4 separate regions of the Homo sapiens genome follow, and all the other regions are linked to region 3. Evidence: promoter capture Hi-C in human tissues and cell types (Jung and others, 2019). All regions are on one chromosome and are shown on one strand. The core of a region is centred on a gene start or on the middle of the fragment in contact, and the rest is flanking DNA. Distances in the headings are between cores, read along the strand shown.

Region 1 (3,177 bases), core at 429-2,928, 380 kb before region 3:
TTGGCAAGTATTGGAAAATCTGATACCCATGAAGGCAAAGCATGGGAAAACGAGTGCTGATCTCCACGGTGGAACTGCAAAGTGGTAGAACCTCTTTGGAAAGTCAATTTAGGAAGGGTTAAATTTTTTGTTTTTGTTTTTGTTTTTGTTTTTGAGACGGAGTCTTGCACTGTCACCCAGGCTGGAATGCAGTGGTGAGATCTCAGCTCACTGCAACCTCCCCCTCCCAGGTTCAAGAGATTCTCCTGCCTCAGCTTCCCAAGTAGCTGGGATTACAGGCACCTGCCACCACACCCAGCTAATTTTTTGTGTTTTTAGTAGAGACGAGGTTTCGCCATGTTGGCCAGGCTGGTCTCGAACTCCTGACCTTGTGATTCACCTGCCTCGGCCTCCCAAAGTGCTGGGATTACAGGCGTGAGCCACCGCACCTTGCCGGGTTAAATTTTTAAATGCATATAAAGCTTGCAATTCAGCAATTACACTTATGGACGAGGACAATCTAAATATAAACCCAAGGAATTGGTTAAATCGTTACAGGGCTTCAACCCACAAAAGGGAAATTTATGCACCCAAATTAATAAGAATGGGGGCAGTTATTTATGTCCTGATATGAAAAGACATCCAAAACCTAAATCTATATGTGATATGATCTTTTTCTTAAATGGAAAAGACTGTGCCATTTTTATCTACTTTCATGTGCATGAAGTTTTCGAAAGAATATGTAAGAAGCCATCATATTGGCTTCAAATTTTACTTAAATTTGTGAGTAATTTACCCTACTTATAAATTTAAGTTCTCAATCATTAATTTTTTTAAAAAATAAACATTAAATGAATATTGCTATGCAATGACTTTAAATAAAAATCATTAATAAGGGTAAACACATGCTTTTGATTTTTTTTTTTTTTTTTTTTGAGACGGAGTCTCTCTCTGTCGCCCAGGCTGGACTGCAGTGGTGACTGCAGTGGTGCCATCTCGGCTCCCTGCAAGCTCCACCTCCCGGGTTCACGCCATTCTCCTGCCTTAGCCGGGTGGATCACGAGGTCAGGAGTTTGAGACCAGCCTGGCCAACATGGTGAAACCCCATCTCTACTAAAAATACAGAAACTTAGCTGGGCGTGGTGGTGGGTGCCTGTAATCCCAGCGACTCGGAAAGCTGAGGCAGGAGAATCGCTTGAACCTGGGAGGCAAAGGTTGCAGTGAGCCAAAAAAAAGAATTCGGTTCAAGGAAATTTAGTTGCTTTTTTTTTTTTCAAGAGATAAACGTACTGGCTTAATTTTTCTTAGAATGCTTAGTGCTATAAATTCTAATTTCTAACTTCGCATGAATGGCTACTGCATATAGAATTATAGAGATGGGGGATGATGCCATTTAGTTTGAGTTTTCCTGCACTGGTGTTCTTTAAGCACTGAATATGTATTAAAACTAACTAAGACAAAGGAAAATAAATAATTTATTAGCATTTTTAAAAACAAAACATTTTATTTCCATTTTGTTAATTATCTTACAAGATCCAAACTAGAATAATCTTATAATGTCAGCTTAAAGCTGTAAAGGCATAGAAATTAGTCAACCCAAAGAGGATGCACATTTCAAGGCCTTTTCTTCATAGAAGGAAATATTTCAAGAGAAAATCTCCACTTATCTTATTCATCCACTAGCCTATAAGCTGTAATGGATTTAAAGGAAGCCCTGCGATTCCTGCAGTCTATCGGTACCCAAAAGAATCATCCCCACATCCATATCTCCAATTTTTGGTCTCTGTTCTGATCAGAAATTAGCAGCTCTTATAATCTGGTAAAAATCCACAGGAATACAAGTAGCCACACACAGAGAAACATCCCTCTATTAAGAAACATATAATTCTTGCCTTAAATTCTGGCCCATTTTTGTAACACTGGTGATGTAGTCACTTTGAGGCCATCTTCGTTCTCCATTTCCATTGCTAAACAAGTGGCAAATAGGAGGAAGCTTATGGGAGGAATTATGAAATGCAGCTGGCCGCCTCAATTGTCTGGTTTTGTTTGTTTGTTTGTTTGTTTCTTTGAGACAGAGTCTCGCTCTGTTGCCCAGATTGGAGTGCAGTGGCGCCAACTCGGCTCATTGCAAACTCCGCTTCCCGAGTTCACGCCATTCTCCTGTCCCAGCCTCCCGAGTGGCTGGGACTACAGGCGCCCGCCACCACGCCTGGCTAATTTTTTGTATTTTTAGTAGAGATGGGGTTTCACCGTGTTAGCCAGGATGGTCTGGATCTCCTGACTTTGTGATCTGCCTGCCTCAGCCTCCCAAAGTGCTGGGATTACAGGCGTGAGCCACCGCACCCGGCCAATTGTCTGTTTTAATGCACGAGGGTCAAACACATCCTTAAATTTACCAGTCAGACAACGGACTCTTCTATTCGAGTACATCTTTATGTTTTGGTGATTCAAGGCTCTTGTAATCAAATGGAGCTAACAAGAGCCCCCATCTCCCCACCTGCCAGAGACAATGGCCTCACCCTGTTGCAACAGACCATTGTTCAATGTCCAGCATTGAAATCATTCATCAGGCAATACATATAGAAAGGCTAATTAATTGATTGTCCAGACTTAGTCTGGAGCCTGGCTCCAGAAATCAAGATTAGCCAGAGACATGGAAGTCAGTTTGTCACTGGTCACCCCACCCTCTGTTGCCACCTGAATATGTTGCCACCTTAATATTTTTTTAAGACAAATTTTTAAAAACAGACAATTAAGGAATAATGTGAAGTGTGAGGCTTTACTTACCACCAGCATTCAGGTCATCTAATCTTCCCGCACCCTGCAGTTGTGAAACGGCCATGTCTCAAAATTAAACCCTGGCAGATAACAGACCAAGCCATTCCCCCTGCCCCCGCCTGGATCTTACATATAAAGACTGTAAAAGATTTCCAGTCTATCTCTGGATCTAACGGAAAAAATAAAGATTACAAAAGATTGAATAGAAGATAAAGACTCCTTCCATTTTACAGAAATGAACCATAGATAAAACCAAGACTTCTGCTTTAGTGCATCTAAACGTTAAGCCTGAGTAATCAAAAGCTTGTTTAACTCTCCATTTGACCTAATACAAGTGATAATTCAACCAGTGTAATGTCTGTTCAGATAAGGGCACTTAGTGAATAACTGGTAACTAAAACTAGCAGAAAAAAAGGAAAG
Region 2 (3,043 bases), core at 219-2,718, 260 kb after region 3:
CCATCCATCACTCTGAGTCTCCACCACCTTACCGATCACATCTCCATGGAAACTGTCTCTCTTGTATTGGTCAGGAATTATCCTAGGCATAGTAGGTTCTCAATAAACGCTCTGGAATGAATAAAAGTTACCATTTATCGAGCAATTACTACATGTCAGACTCTGAACTAAATGCTTTACAGAGGGAAATCCCATTTATTCCTAATAATTGAAAGGTCATTCTTACTCCCTACTTTACAGATGGGGAACTTGCAGCAGGTAAGTGGGAAAACAAAGAACTAGAGCTCAGCTCAGCCTGACTTCAAAGCCCATACACGTATGTACTCTGCTACACTGTGTATCGCATCCAAGGCCCTGGAATTGTTTTGTGCTTGATTCTCTGGCTGGTTTAGAGATGTAAGGCAAGATGAAGTTATTATACAAAGAAGAATACAACTGTTCCCCCACTTTTGAAAGGTAATATTTGCCAATGGGGAATCACCACATTTCTCTAGACCTCTAAATGCTTCATTTATAAACTCCTGTGCAAACATAGAGATGGAGGTGACGGCATCTCTGTCCAATAAATGAGGAAGGGCTGCAGGGAAGAGACAGATATTTCAACTTTGTGTGGAACGACCCCACCACTGGTGAGAGAGAGTGCGGCCCACCCAGGGCTCTGCAAGTTACTTGAATGGCAAGGACACAGGGTATACATGAAGAGGTATCAGGAGAAGAGTAGATACAAGGGCTGTGGGTGCCTTGCTCAGAGGTTTGGGCCTCATTTCATAGGAGTTATCTGTGGTCTGTGTCAACCATGGACTTTATCCCAATCCAGTCCAACTTCTCTCCCCCATTCAGCATCTAACTCAAAGTAGAATGTTGACGTCTGGCACTGCCATTTCTATGTCAACTGATGGCTATGCTTAACAGAGACTTCTAGCCCCAGGGCAAAGATAAAATATAAAAAGGTGACTAGGAAACCGAGTGACGAAATGATCTTGATTATAAGTCCGTCTATGATGAGTCAACATAGATAGAGCCAATGAAACTTGTCATCTTGGGTCTCAACGAAAATACGGAAGGACACTACAAAACAGAATAGTTCATTTAAAACAGAGCCAGCAAACTATAGCTGCAGGCTACATCCAGCCTGTTTTTGTATGGCCTGTGAGCAAAGATTGGTTTTTACATTTTTAAAGGGTTGTAAACAAATAACCCTCATCTCAAATCAAACAGTATATGACAGAGACATGTGGAGCCTAAAATGCTACCTGGATTTTTACAGGAAAAGACTTGCCATCCCCTCACCTAGGACTTTACGTGTCTTTTCAATGTCTAGACAGTCACAGGCCATTTAAATTGGTGCTCAATGTGACTAGACCCAGAGAACTAGATCTATTCACCACTTCAAATATTAGAGCTCATTTAATACTATGATGATTTATGGATTAATAATTCCTCTTATGAGAATACTAAAGTTTTAGCTGTTATTAGACTCATGCTTATCTTAAATTTTTCTTTGATGATTTAAAAACATTTCCTTCTTATACATAAATGGGCTTGCTAGCTTTTGGCCAAATGCTATAATGGCAAAGGGTTTGCCCTTCCTAGTGCTGGTGCTAAGAGGCCTCCATAACACCCTGGTATTTAAAGCTTACCAAAACAACTTTCTTAATTAAAGACCGAGTGAAAGCCCTGACTCTCCTCCCATCAGGTTATTACAAGTGGGTGTAGATGGAATTTTTAAAAAACTTAGCCTACCATTAACACTCTTCAAATTGCCTTCCCTCTAGGACCACGAAGGGAGGGGAAAAGAAGAGGAGAGTTATGGATTTGCGGATCCACGAATCCAGCAGGATTTAGCTTTCCATCAAACGGTAATTCAATATTTACCAAAGGATGTTTAGATGTGGAAATTTTTACTTTGGCTTGTATCTCATCAGAAAAAGTGTTTTTGGTTTTGTTTTTTGTTTTTTTTAACCTTAGGTTTACATATTGAAAAGATACTCAGCCTCAAACATGAAGACTATTCTAGATACACAGTCAACTCCTAATCACTGGACTGGAAATCACCCAGGCATACCTGAAGCTGTTTTGCAGCATTAGATACGCTATGGCCCAGGTATTCCACAGCAAACCTGGGCCCCATCGCTAGGTGATTAGCCATATACTTCTGTCTTCTCAGCTAAAGCATTTATTGCTTTTCATCAGCATAGACAATATAAAGCTGAAGATGTAGTCATCTCTTAATCACTTGAAAGCTGACTCTTCTGTCAGTAAATTCTACTTGGCACAGACTGCCCGTGACTCTGAATGACCGAATGGATTGGGATCAGCTTTTAATTTTATCAAGCAAGATTGATGCAAGCCTGTGATGAAACATTAATATCTGAGATGCCTTGCCACACACAAGCATGAGGTTGCTTACAGACCCTTTGTCTAAAAAATGTTTTCCTTCCCATCCCTGCCTGAATACACCAACATTTCGCATTAGAAACCATATTTTTCCTAAGTCAAAAGAGACAAGGGATTATAATTTTTTCTTTTCTTTTTTTTTATTTTTTTTTTTTTTGAGACGGAGTCTCGCTGTCGCCCAGGTTGGAGTGCAGTGGCGCGATCTCGGCTCACTGCAGGCTCCGCCCCCCGGGGTTCACGCCATTCTCCTGCCTCAGCCTTTTGAGTAGCTGGGACTACAGGTGCCCGCCACCTCGCCCGGCTAATTTTTTGTATTTTTAGTAGAGACGGGGTTTCACCGTGTTAGCCAGGATGGTCTCGATCTATAATTTTTTCTTAAAGACTGAACCATTACATTTAATTAAAAATATGTCTCCATGCAACCAACATTTCTTAGGCAGTGCAGTTCAAGAGGGGCAGGGGAGAGAGAAGAGAACCTTGGTTAAATCACAGTTCTGACAGTCCAGAGCTATGTATAAACTTCTGCAAAATCATACACTCCTGGGACTTGGTTTATCAACAACAATCATCTTCAAAGCACACCATATGTGCCAAACACTGATACGAATCATTTCATTTAATCCTTGGCATAACTTGAGACAAGGGC
Region 3 (3,167 bases), core at 306-2,805:
TGGCACCACTGAACTCCAGCCTGAGCAACAAAGCGAGACTCCATTTCTAAAAGAAAAAGAAGACAGAGAACAAGAAAAACTAAATAAATGGCCCCTTAAAATCATCCGCCACATAATAAAGAGCCTAGGAAACGTATTTTACTGAGATGGGAGAAGGGGAGTGGGGAGGAAAATGGGAGAGCAGAGGGAGGAAGGAAAGGCAGAGAGAAAGGCAAGCAGGCAATGACTAAGAAAGAAGGCTAGAAGGAAAGGGAAGAGGATGTGAATGGAGGAGGTGGTCCGCTGGCCGGGGAAACCGCATCCTGGAACTCGTTCCTAATCCCAGTTCCGAGGGAGGCGGAAGGGGCTTTCTTGCCACCCCCAAGTTGTCCCGAAGGGCTCGCCCTGCAAGGCCCGAGACCCGTGCGCCCCTCTGGGCGAGGGCGGGGAAGGCTGGAGCCCAGGGGCGGGGACCGGGACGGGAAAGGCCGGGCCCGGGGCTCCCAGTTCGCTCTGGGCCCGCAGAAAACCCTGCAAACCCAGCTGCGCGGGGACTCCGTGGGCGCTGCGCGGCGAAGCTGGAAACCAGCGCTGAGACCTCTCGGATTCCCCCCGGCGGCTGTCCCGGGGGCCCGGCTCCACCTTTGCCGTTCCGGGAAAAGCGGACGTCAGCCACAGACCCCAGCCCAGCAGGAGGGGCCGCGCGCGGGGAAGGGCGCACAACACCAGGGAGCTTCGCGCGGGCGGCGCTGGGCCCGAGCCCGCCTCTCCCGAGCTCCGCTTGCCCTTCCCGAACCCCGGGCCAGCCGGCGCGCCGAGCCGCAGCCCCGCCCTCCTCCTGCTCCTCGCCCCCTCCCCTGGTTTCCGCCCCAGCCGCACCGCCCCTTTACCGTCTGGGTCGCGCCCGGCGCGATTGCATCAGAGCCGGCGGCCGGCTGCGCACGTGGAGCCGGGCGTGCGGTCCATGCCGCTAGGCGCCCATTGGAGATGCCCACGCCCACCTGCGCTGCGGGCCCGGTCGGGTACTGGATCCCCCGTTCTCCGCCAGCGCTCCCGGCCGCAGTGCCCAAGCCCGCGTTTCCCGACACACCGCCCGGCCCCCCTAATGAGTTGGCACCAAACACTCGCAGCCCCGCGCCCCGCTCCCCACGGCGGTCCCGGGCGCTCCGCCCCTGGGTCGGGGCCACAGCCGCTGGAGACCTGGGCCAGGGCCAGACCCGACACTCACCTGACGATGGAGTCCCGCGCCGCGGGCGTTCGGCCGCCGGGGCTGCAGCTGCTCCGGGCCTGGCCATCCTGCGGCCGCCGCTGTCCAAGCAGGCCCTCCCGGCCACCGCCGCCGCCTCCGCCGCCGCCGCTGCTAGCGCGACAGGGCACACGGAGGCGGCGCGGAGGGCCCGGGGGCTGGGGCGGGCGGCGGAGCTGGCGCAGGACGAGCGGCAGACGCGTGCCCATGGCGCGGGACGGCTGGTTCTCAGGGGACACGGAGCTGCGGCTGCCGAGGGCGGCGGGGCGCGTGCCAGGGGAGCAGGCGGCGGCGGCGGCGGCGGCGGCGGGAAGGACCTGGCGCTTCCTCCTCGTCCCAGGGGCCCCTAGGGGGCACTGCACCCGGCGGCCGTGACGTGCGGAGGGCGGGGGCCTGCGAGCCGCCGGCCGGGATGTCACGGCTTTGGGCACTTTGGTTTGGTAAGCTGTACCAGACAGAGGGTGGGGTGCGGAGTGGGACTCAGACTCTGCCCTGAGACTCAGCCTCCCTCCCTTCAGCCTGAAAGGCCGAGGTGACCCTTGGTACTCAGGGCGCCAAGTTTAGACGGGAGGGCTTGGATTTGCTGTACTGGAGGTGGCCTGAGGATAAGAGGCTTTGTAACCTTAGGCAGGGGCACTTAATCTCGGTGAGCTTGCGGGGTCTTCGTCAGTACCACAGAGATAACAATGCTCTTCTTAAAACCTTAAAAGGATTTTATAGTCCTGATTGGTTCCAGGGCCCCTCCAGGGGACCCACGTCCACAAATGCTCAAGTCCTTGGTAAAAAAAAAAAAAAAAAAAAGTGTTTGCATATCACCTACACACATCTTCCCATCATAAACTTTAGGTCATCTCCACATTCCCTAAGTCCTCACCTAACATCGTGGAGGGGTTCTTGGAAACTGAAACTTTAAGCCAAATGACTGTAAGGAAAACAGTTTGACCACAGGCTAATTGATATGAGTGAAGTTCCTACAACATATCTGTGGTCACAAAATCGCCCCTAAACTTCGAAATAAAGACCAAAACACTTCTAATATTAAACATTGAAATAAGTGTGAGCCATGCATATATTTAAGGAAGATTTTTAGCTCACGCCTATAATCCCAACACTTTGGGAGGCTGAGGTGGGCAGATCACGTGAGGCCAGAAGTTCAAGACCAGCTTGGCCAACATGGCGAAACCCCATCTCTACTAAAAATACAGAAAATTGGCTGGGTGTGGTGGCGCGTGCCTGTATTCTCAGCTACTCGGGAGGCTGAGGCAGGAGAATCGCTTGAACCCAGGAGCCAGAGGTTGCAGTGAGCCGAGATCATGTCACTGTACTCTAGCCTGGGCGACAGAGCACAGCTCTGTCTCAAAGAAAAAGTTTTTTTTAAACACCCCCTATCCCTCTCGCTTAGAGAAAAATAAAGATTAATAAAAGTGAGATCATTTTTACCGGCTTATTCCAACTCAGGGCACCTCACAGGGTGTGCTCACACACACCCACACTCACACTCGGATCGTGTAGATGCACCAATTTACCTAAAGTGCACTGCACGGCTTTGGGATGTGACAGGACACCAGAAGACAGAGAAAATCCACACAGACATGGATAAAACGTGACAGTGGACCCAGCCAGAAATCTATTTTTTTCTCATCATTATAAGAAAACCACTGAGCAAAATGATGAAATGATGTTATTCCAGGACCTGCTGTACTTATAATACCTAATACAATGTAAATGCTATGTAAATAGATATTACACTGTACTTTTTTATTTCTATGATTTTTTATTATTTTTTGTTATTGTAATTTTTTCAAATACTTTCAGTCCCAGGTTGATTGAGGATACAGAGGGCTGACCATAAGTTCCAAGTAAAGTGGATATCAGATTGTAATTTTATGATTCCCAAGTGAGGGTCAGATTGTTAACTTTATATTTTTACAACCTTATACCC
Region 4 (2,937 bases), core at 284-2,783, 460 kb after region 3:
ATTAACTTCATAATCCTTACACTGATTCCATGAAGTAGGGACTATTGTGATCACTTTCCCCTGTCTACTTGTAGATGTAGATCTTCGATGGAGGTGTTGAAACACTTGCCCAAGATCACCATTTAGGAGTAGGGCCAAGTTGTCTGGCTCCAGGGCCCATGCTCCTACCCACTAGTCACTGTGTGCCAGTGTCCCACCGCACCTCCAGTGAGATGGGTTCATTCGTCTGCAGTTCACATGGGTGCTTTGAAATCCGGGAGGAAAAGACATCATTCCTCGTTGCAGTCAGGGCTGCAAGGGCACTCTCTTTTTTACTTCTTTATTGTAAATGTGCTACTCTCTTTTCTAGAGATACTGGTGAGCTCTAGAAAAATGTTCCCTTCTCTTAAAAAAAAGTTTTTCTTAAAACAAAGACAGAGAAAGAAAGAAGGGAAAAAAGGAAAGGAGGGAACGGGGTTAATTCAGTCAATGGGAAGCACTGGTGGGAGGAAGAGAAAACTTAAGGTATGCCTCCTCCGCCTCTGCCTCGGGCGGCGTTGTTGGCTGTGGCTGCATTGCCCTGGCACCAGCCCTTCTTGGCAAGCTGTCTATGGTTCCACCTTCCTCCAGGTGCTCCCAGACCTTGGGCTCTAGTGAGGCCCCTCCAGCCCCGTCCCTCTAGTGCTGGGTAGGAGGGGTCAGGGCTAATCACTCTTGCCTCACTCTCCCCACAGTGCAATCAATTCCTTGTTTTAAATTCCCCTTCTGAAAATAATTAGCATGGTATCTCTCTACCTGGCCAGATCTTGTCTGAGCGGCCCTGTAATCTCTTAGAGTGCAGCAGCGTGGGGTGCATTTATTCCTTCCAAGAGCAGAAGATGGGCTTAGAAATAGCCTTTCAATTCGTTTTCCAGTCCAGAATTTCACAAAAGCATAATGTTTAGTCAGCTCAATGCTACCAGTCCGTGACCAAAACTATGTTACGAACACAGGGCGCCAAAGAGTAAAGAGGTCACACTAAGCGTAACCTCTTCCTGCTGCCCCAAACTCCTCACATCCCCCCCACCCCACAACACTCCCTGTAATTACGTGGGTTGTGTTGTAACTGGTTCATCCAGCTACTAAATCAGAGAGATTCAGGCACTCTTTTTTCCCAAGAGTTCTCCAGCAAAAATGCAGAAAAGCTTTTGAAGGCTTGTAACCATCCAGTGGTGTCATTCAAATTGCAAGGATTCTCTGCAATGACAACCTTACCAGCTGATACCTACCATGGCCCCCAGGAGCCCCAGGACACAGAGTTGAGGTAGACTGGTCTCTGCTCTCTGAGAGCTGAGAGTCTAGCAGAAGGCTTGGTCCAAGGAGAAGGGCAGCCAGCGTCATAGGCAGGGAGCCCAAGATGCTCAGAGGAAAGAGATGAGCTCAGCCTTCCTCTTTCCCTGCTGAAGTCTGATGGGAGAATCCAGGGAAGCTTTGACAAAGTGACATAACGCTTGGCCTTCAAGGATGGGGACGTAAATCTGGGAGAAAGACATGGAAGGGGATTCTTGATCTGAGCAAGAAGGGCAAGCCGGGGGCCCAACGGGCATACAGAAGGTTCAAGTTGATTCAATGGAACCCCCTGGTGGGAAGCAGACACTCTGAGTGATGGTCAGTTTCCCTGAAGCTAGGTTCATGGGCTTGTTCTATTTTATACTCCTTCTGCACACATGCTCCTTATAGCTTCTCCTCTCTGCCTCTCTCTCCAGGTACCCCAGTTGGCTGAGCTGATCCTTAGGAGACGAGGAGGCACAATCACAGCTCACGTCCTCAGCTTCTCTCTGCCTCCTGCCCGCCCATTCTCTCCCTCTTCACCTTTATCCAGTTGTCCTTCTTCAAACCCACTTTGGGGGTTTTCTTTTCCATCCTCTGGTGGCCCTGATGTTTGCTTGCTAGTTAAGTGATTTATACATTCCAGGCTGGATCCAAGACAGTGTGGAATGAAAACCAAATGCAAATTGGCTAGAAGGAAGGGCCAGAATAAACACAAACTGAAGACCCCAAACCAACGGTGTCCAAGCTTGTGCATGTATCTGCGCTGTCCCCATGGGGCCTTCCAACTCTGCTCAAAGCAATCTCCAGGGCTGTTCTCCAAGGACAATGGGTGAGTTAGAGAGAAGATCTCTTTGTGCTTCCTTCTTTGCTTTTTAAATTTAAGGTGGACATGATCTCAGGGCTTTGTACAGAAAACCTCTGAGGGTCAGTTGAGTGACCCACTTACCCTGCCATTCCCCACCCTGCTGGGGTCCTCCTGCTACTTCAACTCCATCACCACAGAGACTCAATTCCTGCGCTCTGAGGTTCAAATCTGCATCTGCTGAAGAATCTTCCAGAACTGCAACTCCCATCTGCACTGGGAGCATGTCTGGCCCACACCAGCTCAAGCACTGTGTGAAGGGTCCCAGTTATTCAGTGTGAAATTGTGTAAGACTTTCTCCTGGAGACAGGACCTTTGCAATCACAGCTTGGGGAATTGTCTTTACAATAACCACTTCCTCTTAGGGAGTCAGCAGCCTGGGCTCAAATCCTGCTTGGTCACTAAGATAGTTTTGTGACTCTAGACAAGTCACAGCACCCCTCTTAGCCTACATTTCTTCATCCATTCAACAAATATTCACATAGCAGCTACCGGCACCAGGAATAGAGAGGGGAGCATGATTGATAAATCATCTTAGAATTTATGATTGCATTATGGGAGTTACTCAGTAAATGAGTTTTTAAAAATCAGGGGGAGGGGGAAAACCTTTGAAGAACAATTTGGCAAGATCTAGAAAAGCTGAAATTTGACTTCTCTTTGACCCAGTAAGTCTACTCTTAGGTATATACCCTAGAGAAATTCTTAAACATTCCCACAGGACAAAGAATGAATGTAAAAGAATTTAAATGACAACTCATAAGAAAATGAAAAATGTGCGATATGTT

The links. Contacts are between HindIII fragments. The study calls those that stand out against the background at their distance.
Region 1: a fragment that was not itself captured here is called in contact with the fragment with the promoter of MTHFD1L in region 3 in 1 of the 25 tissues and cell types used here (mesenchymal stem cells).
Region 2: a contact is called between a fragment that was not itself captured here and the fragment with the promoter of MTHFD1L in region 3, in 1 of the 25 tissues and cell types used here (lymphoblastoid cells).
Region 4: a contact is called between a fragment that was not itself captured here and the fragment with the promoter of MTHFD1L in region 3, in 1 of the 25 tissues and cell types used here (dorsolateral prefrontal cortex).

Annotation. Positions count from the first base shown.
Region 1 is chr6:151,243,394-151,246,570 of GRCh38, reverse strand. The region is part of intron 2 of AKAP12 (A-kinase anchoring protein 12); the gene reads right to left. Among named protein-coding and RNA genes, the nearest start is that of AKAP12, 5.0 kb to the right of the region's middle. The HindIII fragment of the contact is 4,236 bases long and covers 1-3,177 here.
Region 2 is chr6:150,602,591-150,605,633 of GRCh38, reverse strand. The region is part of intron 1 of PLEKHG1 (pleckstrin homology and RhoGEF domain containing G1); the gene reads right to left. Among named protein-coding and RNA genes, the nearest start is that of PLEKHG1, 4.2 kb to the right of the region's middle. The HindIII fragment of the contact is 3,558 bases long and covers 1-3,043 here.
Region 3 is chr6:150,864,090-150,867,256 of GRCh38, reverse strand. It overlaps MTHFD1L (methylenetetrahydrofolate dehydrogenase (NADP+ dependent) 1 like), which reads right to left and starts at 1,555. Exons shown (of 28, transcript NM_015440.5): 1 at 1,208-1,555. The coding sequence starts at 1,434. RefSeq lists silencers at 384-533, 654-853, 1,014-1,423, 1,484-1,713. The HindIII fragment of the contact is 14,014 bases long and covers 1-3,167 here.
Region 4 is chr6:150,406,676-150,409,612 of GRCh38, reverse strand. No RefSeq gene overlaps it. Among named protein-coding and RNA genes, the nearest start is that of IYD, 39 kb to the right of the region's middle. The HindIII fragment of the contact is 4,244 bases long and covers 1-2,937 here.